Regions from separate parts of the Homo sapiens genome. Here region 1 is linked to region 2. Evidence: promoter capture Hi-C in human tissues and cell types (Jung and others, 2019). All regions are on one chromosome and are shown on one strand. The core of a region is centred on a gene start or on the middle of the fragment in contact, and the rest is flanking DNA. Distances in the headings are between cores, read along the strand shown. Region 1 overlaps ZDHHC20 (zDHHC palmitoyltransferase 20). Region 2 holds the start of LATS2 (large tumor suppressor kinase 2).

Region 1 (5,503 bases), core at 856-3,355, 380 kb before region 2:
GCGGAGGGGCTCCTCACTTTTCAGACGGGGTGGTTGCCAGGCAGAGGGTCTCCTCACTTCTCAGACGGGGCGGCCGGGCAGAGACGCTCCTCACCTCCCAGACGGGGTCTCGGCCGGGCAGAGGCGCTCCTCACATCCCAGATGGGGCGGCGGGGCAGAGGCGCTCCCCACATCTCAGACGATGGGCGGCCGGGCAGAGACGCTCCTCACTTCCTAGATGTGATGGCGGCTGGGAAGAGGCGCTCCTCACTTCCTAGATGGGATGGCGGCTGGGCGGAGACACTCCTCACTTTCCAGACTGGGCAGCCAGGCAGAGGGGCTCCTCACATCCCAGACGATGGGCGGCCAGGCAGAGACACTCCTCACTTCCCAGACGGGGTGGCGGCCGGGCAGAGGCTGCAATCTCGGCACTCTGGGAGGCCAAGGCAGGCGGCTGGGAGGTGTAGGTTGTAGTGAGCCGAGACCACGCCACTGCACTCCAGCCTGGGCACCATTGAGCACTGAGTGAACGAGACTCCCTCTGCAATCCCGGCACCTCGGGAGGCCAAGGCTGGCGGATCACTCGCGGTTAGGGGCTGGAGACCGGCCCGGCCAACACAGCCAAACCCCGTCTCCACCAAAACCAGTCAGGCGTGGCGGCGCGTGCCTGCAATCGCAGGCACTCGGCAGGCTGAGGCAGGAGAATCAGGCAGGGAGGTTGCAGTGAGCCGAGATGGCAGCGGTACAGTCCAGCTTCGGCTCCACATGAGAGGGAGACCGTGGGGAGAGGGAGAGGGAGACGGAGAGGGAGAGGGAGAGGGAGAGCGCTCACATCTTCTATCTGTCCAAACTGGGACGAGTCCTCGGCCTCGGAGGCTCCACGCTCCCTCTCTCACAGCCCGCACCTCGGCGGTCTCTGGTTGTTTAAAGTAACTTAAGTTTTAGGGTGGGTTGTTAATGCCACATTATCACCTATATTGTAGTATCCTTGTAAACCTGTCTCTTCCTGTGCTCCACCCCCACCTTTATTCCATGTATTCTCCAGGAAGCAGTCAGAATGGTCTTTTTCAAATTAATACCAGTTTGTTACTCCTATTCTCAAGATCTTGACTGGCGTCCTTTCTTGCTCAGCAAGATATCTAAAAGCCTTACCATGGCCTTTAAGGCATTGTGTATTCATTACTTCATTACTTCTCTGACATAATTTCCTTTCCACTCTTCCTCTAATTTTATCTCTAGCTTAAGAAATCTATTTTCTATAGACAGAGGTGTGGGAGGGTGTGTTGTCTAAGGGAGGGAGCCCTCCACATCATCACCATGTGGGATTTTAAGATTAATACCTGACGCTATTCCTGTAAGCATATAAGCAACACATTTAGATACTGCTCAAATATGTAGAACATATACTTGAACAGATGGGCATTACACTTAAATGACTGATATAATAAAGAATAAAGGTGACTAGTTTTATGGAGAATAGATTCCCTTAAATAGAGATCCATAGGTCTTTAAAATAAAATTTAAAAAAAATTTGGTTTTAAAACATCTCTATTTTGGCTTTCCCAATGCATTTTACTATCGTAAACTTTGAACCACTCATTGGAATCATAGGAAGAATTAATTTTTATGGACATACTAATTCAACAGCATATAAAAACAAACACAAACTTATTAAATGTGAAGTCTTCTGGGAAGCTTTTAAAACTAATTGCATGAAAAGGATATCCTCAGCATCTGAAGGAAATAATACCAAATACACCAAAATATTAACAGTGTATGTTGCTGGGTTTGAGATTATACTGATTTTTTCCTTATGCAATACATAGCCTCTTAATAGACTTTCATATTTTCCCCTTACAGCATATTCTTCCCTTATCCCCCGAAGAGCTAATGAATCTGCTAAAAAAATACAAGTCATGATTATTACTCCTCTGCTCAGCACCCTCTGATGGCTTTCCACTTTGCTTAAAATGAAATTCAAAGTTGAAAATATATAAGGCTCTAGATGCTGTGGCCTGCCACTGCTTCTGACCTAATTTCTTCCTTTGCTCATTCTGCTTCAGCCAACAGGCCACCTTTCTTTTCATCTGTCAGGCCACCTGAGGACCCTTGAACTTCCTGTTCCTTCTGCCTGGAATGCTTTCCTCCCAGATTTCCGCATGGCTAGCTCTCACTTCGTCTAGATCGCTGTTCAGGTAGTCACCTATCAGAGAGGCATTCCTGACTACCCTCTGTAAAAGAAGTACTTCGTCTTTTAGTCTCCTCACCCTGCATTTTTCCCCCCTCATAGCGCCTATTATTACTTGACATACAGTTATTTTTGTTTCTCTCCAGTCGTATATTCACTGCTGTATTTCCAGAACCTAAAATAGGGTCTGGTATAATATGTTCTCAATAGATATTTGTTGAATGAGTGAATTGATTGTGTAGCCGCCAATTCGCATGCTAGTAGAAGAGGGAGAATTGGAATGTTTTCATATAGTAGACAACTTGCAATTATTGATAATCGGTATTATTGATAATCTTAAAGTTGCTTCTGGATTTCAGATAGCCTGTTCATTAGGCAGGTGAGGAAACTGTCTTGAATTGTCAGGAGGAAATGTTAATTATAATAGCTATTGTTATTATTGTTTATTGTATGCCCGTTGTGTGTCTGACATATAGTCTGAGGCAGTTCACTTATGTTAGGTCTTTTTTAATTCTAACTCTATTGGAGAGAGATTATTAGCATTATTTTGTGGATTAAAAACAAAGACTCATAGGTTAAAGATCTCTTTTGAGGCCATACAATTGATACATAAAACCAAAGCTCAGATCCACATCTGTGTAACTCTGTAAGTTTTGCCCTTTCCATTATACATTTGTCCATTAAAATATTTAATAATTTATAAGCTCTATTTGCAGGCCTTTCATTATATTTGTTATAACTAGTCAAATCTTGTGTTTGGGGCATGTAATGCAAATAAGACAAAACCTCTCCCATATATATATATAAATATATAAAACATACATGTAAAACATGTATGTGTGTGTGTGTATGTGTTTTGAGACAGGGTCTCACTGTGTTGCCCAGGCTGGAGTGCATTTGGCATGACCACAGCTCACTGCATCCTCAAACTCCCAGACTCAAGCAATCCTTCCACCTTAGCCTCCTGAGTAGCTGGGACTACAGGCGCATAACACCATGGCCGGCCAATTTTTGTAATTTTTATAGAGACGAGGTCTTGCTATGTTGCCAGGGCTGGTCTCCAACTCCTAAGCTCAAGCAGTCCTCCCACCTCAGCCTCCCAGAGTGCTGGGATTGAAGACATCAGCCACTGTGCCCAGCCCTATATTTTTATACAGGTGACATTTGGTATAACAGTACCTATCAAGAGCAGTTTGGAGGAAAAAGATCATAAAACGGTAGGGGACGGATATACCTACTAACTTTCACGTAGAGAAGGCTGATTTACTGGCTGTTTGTATTTATAACTATTTCAGATGTATCCTTATTTCTTGGGTTTATGGCCCAATACGAATAATTTAATTTAGTAGAACAACATAAATTTACTAATTTTATCATATATAATGTATTTTTTGAAAGTACCCGTTATTATCACTATCATTTTATAAAAGGATATTCTAATATCAAAGTATGAGACATAATCTGAATGAAGACTTCAGTGCCTTTAAATTATTGCAGTTTATGAAAAATTCTCTCCCTTTTGCTTATGTTTCTTGTTTTACTGTGGCCTGGGTCATGGACTTGGATTTGGGAGTCATTTCTTTAGCACGCCAATTTATCTCTCCAACTAGTTTCTATGTTGATGTACATAATAAACAAGTAACCTTCTGTGACTTCCAGGCAGTCTGTTTAGAGCCTAAAGCCTTAACGTGAAACCAGGGAGGTGAGGTATTCCTGGTTCTAACAACAAAATTTTACTCATTTATTTACTAATTTTTTTGAGACAGAGTCTCGCTCTGTTGCCCAGGGTAGAGTGCAGTGGCACAATCTCAGCTCCCTGCAACCCCCACCTCCCGGGTTCAAGCAATTCTCCTGCCTCAGCCTCCCAAGTAGCTGGGACTATAGGCACACGCCACCACACCTGGCTAATTTTTGTATTTTTAGTAGAGATGGGGTCTCACCATGTTGGCCAGGCTGACTCCTGACGTCAGGTGGTCCTCCTGCCTTGGCCTCCCTAACTGCAGGAATTACAGGTGTGAGCCACCACACGCAGCCAAAATTTTAGAACACAGACTAATCATAAGATGATGTTATCTATAGCCACATGTGGAAGTTCTAGAAAAATGAGTGTTGGCAGATAATATTTTAAATCCTTCTGAACAATATTGAAGGACCCCAGGAAATGGTAATAATTATCCTTACTATTCATGCATTTAATGCGCTAAGTAATTAAGTGGTCTGTCTATATCTTTTGATCTTTACAATAACTCTACAAAGGAGATGCATATTTTTCTTCAGTTTATAACTTGAGAAGTTGACTTAGTTCCTCAATTCAGACCTTTCCACATATCCTTCTAAAACCCATACAGATTAGTAAGAGCAAATAAAATCAACTATATAACCTGGGCCTATGGCATAGCTAGGACATAGAGAATTTTTGAAACCACAGTTTATATGTGAGTGGGGAAATAGTCATCTAAGAATAGCTAGGTGAACTCTGGTGACTGTATCAGAACTAAGAGTAAGGGACTCTGCAGAGGATAACAGGCTCTTTGTTCATCCTCAGAAGATGAGAACCCTATCCCGAGTGGGAAATACTGAAAACAGGTCTGTAATCTGGTGGATCAGAGCATAGCAACTGAGAATGCAAAAGAAAAGGGACTTGGAAAAGTGTTTATGACTTGAGATGGCAGCCTTAAAAAAAAACACCACTCCTAGGGGAGAAGGTAGCACCTTGGAAGTTGAAAGTGTCCCATGAAGTATTAATATTTAATAGTAAAGAGAAAGAAGGAAATAGCTGGAAGGATACAGCTGAAACCAAGAGTATCAAAGCGATAGAGGATAAATAAATGCACTGTCCATCTAGCAAATAAACTGTACTTCATTGAAGTAACAGAAGAAGGCACTGGTAGAAATAAGAAATTAAGCAAGCCCTTTTGCCCCAGAGGGTTTCTTGCTGTGGATGGTCCATGAAAATCAGTGTAACTCAGCATGAACAATAATTAAAACAGCATCCATGTAGATTTCTCTGATTCAAAAATGAGAATCAGTCTTTTCAGTAGATGAAAATACATTAAAAGGCAACAAAGAAGAGAACTAATTCAGTATCCAGACATAAATATAAATAAATATCTGCTGAATAAAAGAAACTGCAAGTCAAAAGTTTTTTGTTTTTTTTTTTGAGATAGAGTCTCGCTCTGTCGTCCAGGCTGGAGTCCAGTGGTGTGATCTCGGCTCACTGTAATCTCTGCTTCCCGGGTTCAAGCAATTCTTGTGCCTCAGCCTCCTGAGTAGCTGGGATTATAAGCGCATGCCACCACACCCAGCTAATTTTTGTATTTTTAGTAGAGACAGGGT
Region 2 (5,136 bases), core at 2,508-5,007:
AACATGGTCGTTTTGAGAATTAAATGATATAATATACAAATTTAGAGCAATACTTGGTATAGAATAAGGACACACACATACACATATGTATATACTATGTCAGTTAATTTATACACTCCAATTTTGTTACTACTGTCCGCTCTATGCTCAGCTGGTCTTGTGTTGTCTCTTTTTCTCCTCTTCTCAGCTAGATACATTATGTAGATGTGCTTATTTAACTGATTAACTTTAAAACATTTTCTGGACCAGGCATGGTGGCTGAAGCCTGTAATCCCAGCACTTTGGGAGGCCAAGGCAGGCAGATCACCTGAGGTCAGGATTTCGAGACCAGCCTGGCCAACATGGTGAAACCCCATCTCTACTAAAAATACAAAAATTAGCCGTGCATGGTGGAGCATGCCTATAATCTCAGCTACTCCAGAGGATGAGGCAGGAGAATTGCTTGAACCCGGGAGATGGAGGTTGCAAGGTTGCAGTGAGCTGATATCTCACCATTGCATTCCAGCCTGGGCGACAGAGCAAGACTCCATCTCAAAAAAAAAAAAAGAAAAAGAAAAAAAGAAAAAAAATTATGTTAACTATCCTACTATAGAAGTATCAGGAAGTATAAGACAAAACCATTCAGAATCACTACACTACATCCAGAGACTACCACTTTTAACATTTGGCTGTGTAATTTTCTGGGCTTTAAAAATAGTTTAAAAAATATACATGTGTACATAGTTTATTGTATATACATATAAAATAAACTTATATTGTTGCTGTTTTTCCTTTCTTTTTTTTGTTTTTAGTAGAGATGGGATCTTACTCTGTTGGCTAGGCTGGTCTCGAACTCCTGGCCTCAAGTGATCCACCCATCTCAGCTTCCCAAAGTGCTGGGATTACAGGCATGAGCCACCATGCCCAGCATGTGTTTTTCTTGAACACCTCTACCTCTACCACACTATAAACCCCATCAGGGGATAAATCTTATGGTTTTGCTTACCATGTTATCCCAAGTATGATTTATTTTAGCACATGGCTCATAGCAGGTACCAATAACAAAACAAAACAGAAACAAAACAAAACAAAAACCCAAACATGGGTTTTTTAATTTTAGCACATGGTTCATAGCAGGTACCGATAACAAAACAGAAAACAAAACAAAAACCCAAACATACAACAACAAACAAAAATGAGAAGGAATGAATGACTGCATGTTAATAAACACAAATCGTTAATCACAACATTCTTCCATGTGAGCGTGTCAGCTTTCCCAACCAAGCCCCTATCTTGGAAACTTGTTTCCAATTTGTCTGTATTCATATATATATATAAAATTTAAAATTTTTAATGTTTTTTAAAAAAGGCACAAAGAATAGTATAGCACACATTATTGAACCCAACCTCCCAGAACCAACAACTTTTAAGATTTTGAGTTTTATTTCCGTTTTTTAAATAAAAGAAAGCATTGTAAAGTTGAAGTCTTCATTTTTTTTCTCTGCTCAATTTCCCTCCTTCCCTCTAATATAAACAACAGCTGTCATGAATTTGGTGTGTGTGATATTGCATTCTATGTCTATACTTATATAAAGTATGTGATCATTTTAGGTTCTGTGGGATTTTGATTATTTATAAATATGGTATCACAGTGTATATATATAGTTCTGCAACTTGCTTTTTTTCACTCCACAGTGCTTTTGAATTCTTTCTACCATCATTTATCCTTTACAACTACAGAGCTAGTTCATTAACTTAGCTACTGTGTATATTCCATCATTTGGATATCTACCTTTCATTTTCCTACCCCTTGACTGGACATTTGGGGTTTTTCTCAATTTTTCACTACTGCAAACAATGCTGAAATGATCATTGTAACTGCAACATTTTTATTAGGTATTTTATGCACAAATTTTAAGGTCCATTAAATCTATTTTATAATATTTTTCATTCCACAAGTGTTTTAAAAATTATTTTTACATCTTTGAAGGCAGAGCAGGAGCAGGATCTTTAAACACACAACAAAAAAAGATTAGCAGCCATGTGGCTTGGGGTTGGGGTGGAGAAAGTATAGTCAGCTTAAGAGTGAAAAGAAGGCCAAGCATGGTGGTGTGCGCCTGTGTTCCCAGCTACCCTAGAGGCTGAGGCAGGAGGATGGCTTGAGCTCAGGAGTTCAAGGCTGATGTGGGCTGCAGTAAGTTATGATTGTGCCACTGCACTCCAGCGTGGGCAATGGAGTGAGACTCTGTCTCTAAGAAAAAAAGGAAAAAATGTGGAAAAGTACATAGGTAATGCCAGTAGGGCTCAATTGCAGAATATTGGCTGGAGACTTATTTTGCTCCCAGTACTGTGCAAGATATCTGGGTAGCATACAGGATACTATCGAAAAATTAAATTGAATTCTAAGCTGCACGATGATGGTTTCTTTTTTTTTTTTTTGCACACTTCTGCTGGCAGGAAGGGATTACGGTTTGATTATCAGAGCCCAAAGAAGAGAGAAAACAGAGATCTGAGAAGATTCCCTGGAAGAGCTGAGGCCTTAAGAGATTGAAAGAGAGGGAGGGGAGGAGGATGAACCAGGGACTGAAGGCTGGGTGAGACTGTCAAAATAGTGCACAGATAATGACCTTTACTACTGTTTCCCATGAGAGTAAAATTTAAAAATTTCACAAGAGTTTGTCAATTAAAGAGGAAATCGAGTTGACTTTAAACACTATATTGACCCTCAGCATCACTTGCCACAGATATAGGTGGTAGGAAGTATGATGTTAGGAGAGCCAGAAGTAGACTGAGGATTTGGCTTCCAGTCTATTATTTCTACTGTGAATCTTTGCACCATCCCTGCTTCTGTCCCTGTACCAGATCCACAGTCCTCAAATGGATAGTGAAGCTGTTCAAAACCCACGACCTCACTTGCTGGTATATACGGTACTATACTATTCCCTACACCATAAAATACTTCTCAGAAAGAAAATATACATGGGGAGGGGAGGTTGATTAAATTAAATCAGGTTAAATTTGGGTGTGCATCAGACGTTCTTTTTTTTTTTTTTTTGAGACGGAGTTTTGCTCTTCTTGCCTAGGCTGGAGTGCAATGATGCGATCTCAGGTCACCGCAACCTCCGCCTCCCGGGTTCCAGTGATTCTCTTGCCTCAGCCTCCCGAAGAGCTGGGATTACAGGCATGAGCCACCACGCCTGGCTAATTTTGTATTTTTAATAGAGACGGGGGTTTCTCCAAGTTGGTCAGGCTGGTCTCGAACTCCCGACCTCAGGTGATCCACCCGCCTAGACCTCTCAAAGTGCTGGGATTACAGGCGTGAGCCACCGCTTCTGGCAAACGTCCTTCTTAATTGTTTGATTCCACTGTCCCAATAGCCGTCTGTCCTTTTCTGCCCCTATTTTTAGTGTCCAGCCACTAGTTGGTAACTTGGTGGCTCCTTCAGGCCTGCTAACTTTTTTTTTTCTTTCACCAAGACTGGTATGAGATACTTAAGAATAGTGGCTTTAACGACAGTTACCAACTTTTAATACAAATGCAGTCGAGAGGGCAAATACTCAAGTTTGGGGGCAGATAGCAGCCAGTCAAATAGGTCCGAGAGGCCCTGGCGAGCTACCGCAGGCCAGCAGGGAGGCCGTGGGCAGGTGGCGGTCGAGGCCGGAGGCAGGAAGCACGGCCGGGCGGGGCTGGGCGGAGCGGCCGCGGAGGAGCAGGGGCCGCAGGCGCCCCGCCCGGACTGGTATGCGGCCGAGAGTGACGCGGGAGGCGGGGTCACGTGACGCCCGTGGAATGCCAACAATGTAGCGAATGTCCCACTTGGGTCTGCGCTTTGGAACCGCGGCGTGAGCGCCCCGGGAAGATGGAGCAGTCGCCGTCCACGCCACCGCCGCCGCCCGGGGCTCCCCCGTCCCTGCGGGGCCAGCAGCAGCTCCAGCCACCAGTGCCCGGTCTCCCGGCGCGAGAGGCCCGGGAGCCGCCGGCCAGGACGCCCCCGAGGGTGTAGACCGCGCCCCTGGAGGTGAGGGGGCTGGGAGCTGGGGTCGGGGCGGCAGCTCGGAGGGTGGCGAGAGTTTCCGCGAAGCGGTCGAGCCCTGCGGCTCCGCGCACCTACTGTGGTGCCGAGGCTCCGGGAAGGGCGCCCGGCGGGGCGGCCGAGGAAGTTTGTCCGGACGGAGCCCTGCGCCCTGCCCCCACGGTCCGCGCCCGCCCGGAGCCGCCCCCGCCCGGCGGCTCGTAGTCCAGGCCGTACGGAGCCCGCGGAGCCGGTTCCAGAGGAGCCGGGGAAGTTGGAGGCCGGCGTCGGGCGGGGGCAGCGGGGCTGCGCCGCTTTGTTGTGCGGCGACCGGGGCGGCCGGGATCCCGGCGGGGCAGGGGCGGCGCGGGCCGGGGGCGGTGTCCTAGACCCGAAAGGCCGTAGCGCCGGGCGCGCCTCTGCTTCCGCTGTCTCCGGGGGATCGGCTTTTCACTAGACGCCCGGCCGGGCGCCCCTGACAGCCTCGGGACCCCCGGTCCGGCGGCGCAGCGGTCCCACGGATCCGGGGCCATCCTCCCGGCCGCGCCATCGTCCCACGGGCCAATCAGTCCTTCAGAGCCCGCCCTGTTGGCCCCCGCCGGCCGCCCCGTCGTCCCGCGAGCCGACGGACCCACGGCGGTGCCGCAGTCGAGGCCGCGCCGCCCCTCAGCCCCCGGTGGCTGCGCCGCCTCACCCACTGCCGCGCGGTTCCCACCCCGTTCCCCGCGGCCGCGCCGCCGGCTCACGGGCCAGTCAGCCCCTCAGAGGCCACCGGACCCTGGGGGCGCCGTTCCTCCCGGGCTGCGGGCGGCCAGGCCCTGCTCGGCGTCTCCCGGCCGGCTGCCGCGCCAACTCTGCGAGTTTGCTCACGGTCTTGGCGGGACGCGGCCCGAGGCGCAGGAGCGCTTTCGTGGCCACGCGAACGGCGGCCGTTGCATAACACGCCATTCCCGTGCCCTAGTTTAGCGACGTGTGGGGGGTTTGGCTTTCTCTTCTGATGTAAGCTCACCTGCGCTTAGCTCCCCAGCCGGACTCTGGAGATGGGGATTCTGACATCATTCACATCTTGCCATCACATCCTTCAGCCCAACTCCAGAACTTCTGGGGAGCTTTCCCTCGGGGATGGAGTGCGGCCTGGAGCAAAC

Evidence for each region. Contacts are between HindIII fragments. The study calls those that stand out against the background at their distance.
Region 1: a contact is called between a fragment that was not itself captured here and the fragment with the promoter of LATS2 in region 2, in 1 of the 25 tissues and cell types used here (dorsolateral prefrontal cortex).

Annotation. Positions count from the first base shown.
Region 1 is chr13:21,442,579-21,448,081 of GRCh38, reverse strand. The region is part of intron 1 of ZDHHC20 (zDHHC palmitoyltransferase 20); the gene reads left to right. Among named protein-coding and RNA genes, the nearest start is that of ZDHHC20, 14 kb to the left of the region's middle. The HindIII fragment of the contact is 8,751 bases long and covers 1-5,503 here.
Region 2 is chr13:21,060,207-21,065,342 of GRCh38, reverse strand. It overlaps LATS2 (large tumor suppressor kinase 2), which reads left to right and starts at 3,757. Exons shown (of 8, transcript NM_014572.3): 1 at 3,757-3,997. RefSeq lists silencers at 3,543-4,342, 4,483-4,892 and an enhancer at 4,398-5,136. The HindIII fragment of the contact is 21,659 bases long and covers 1-5,136 here.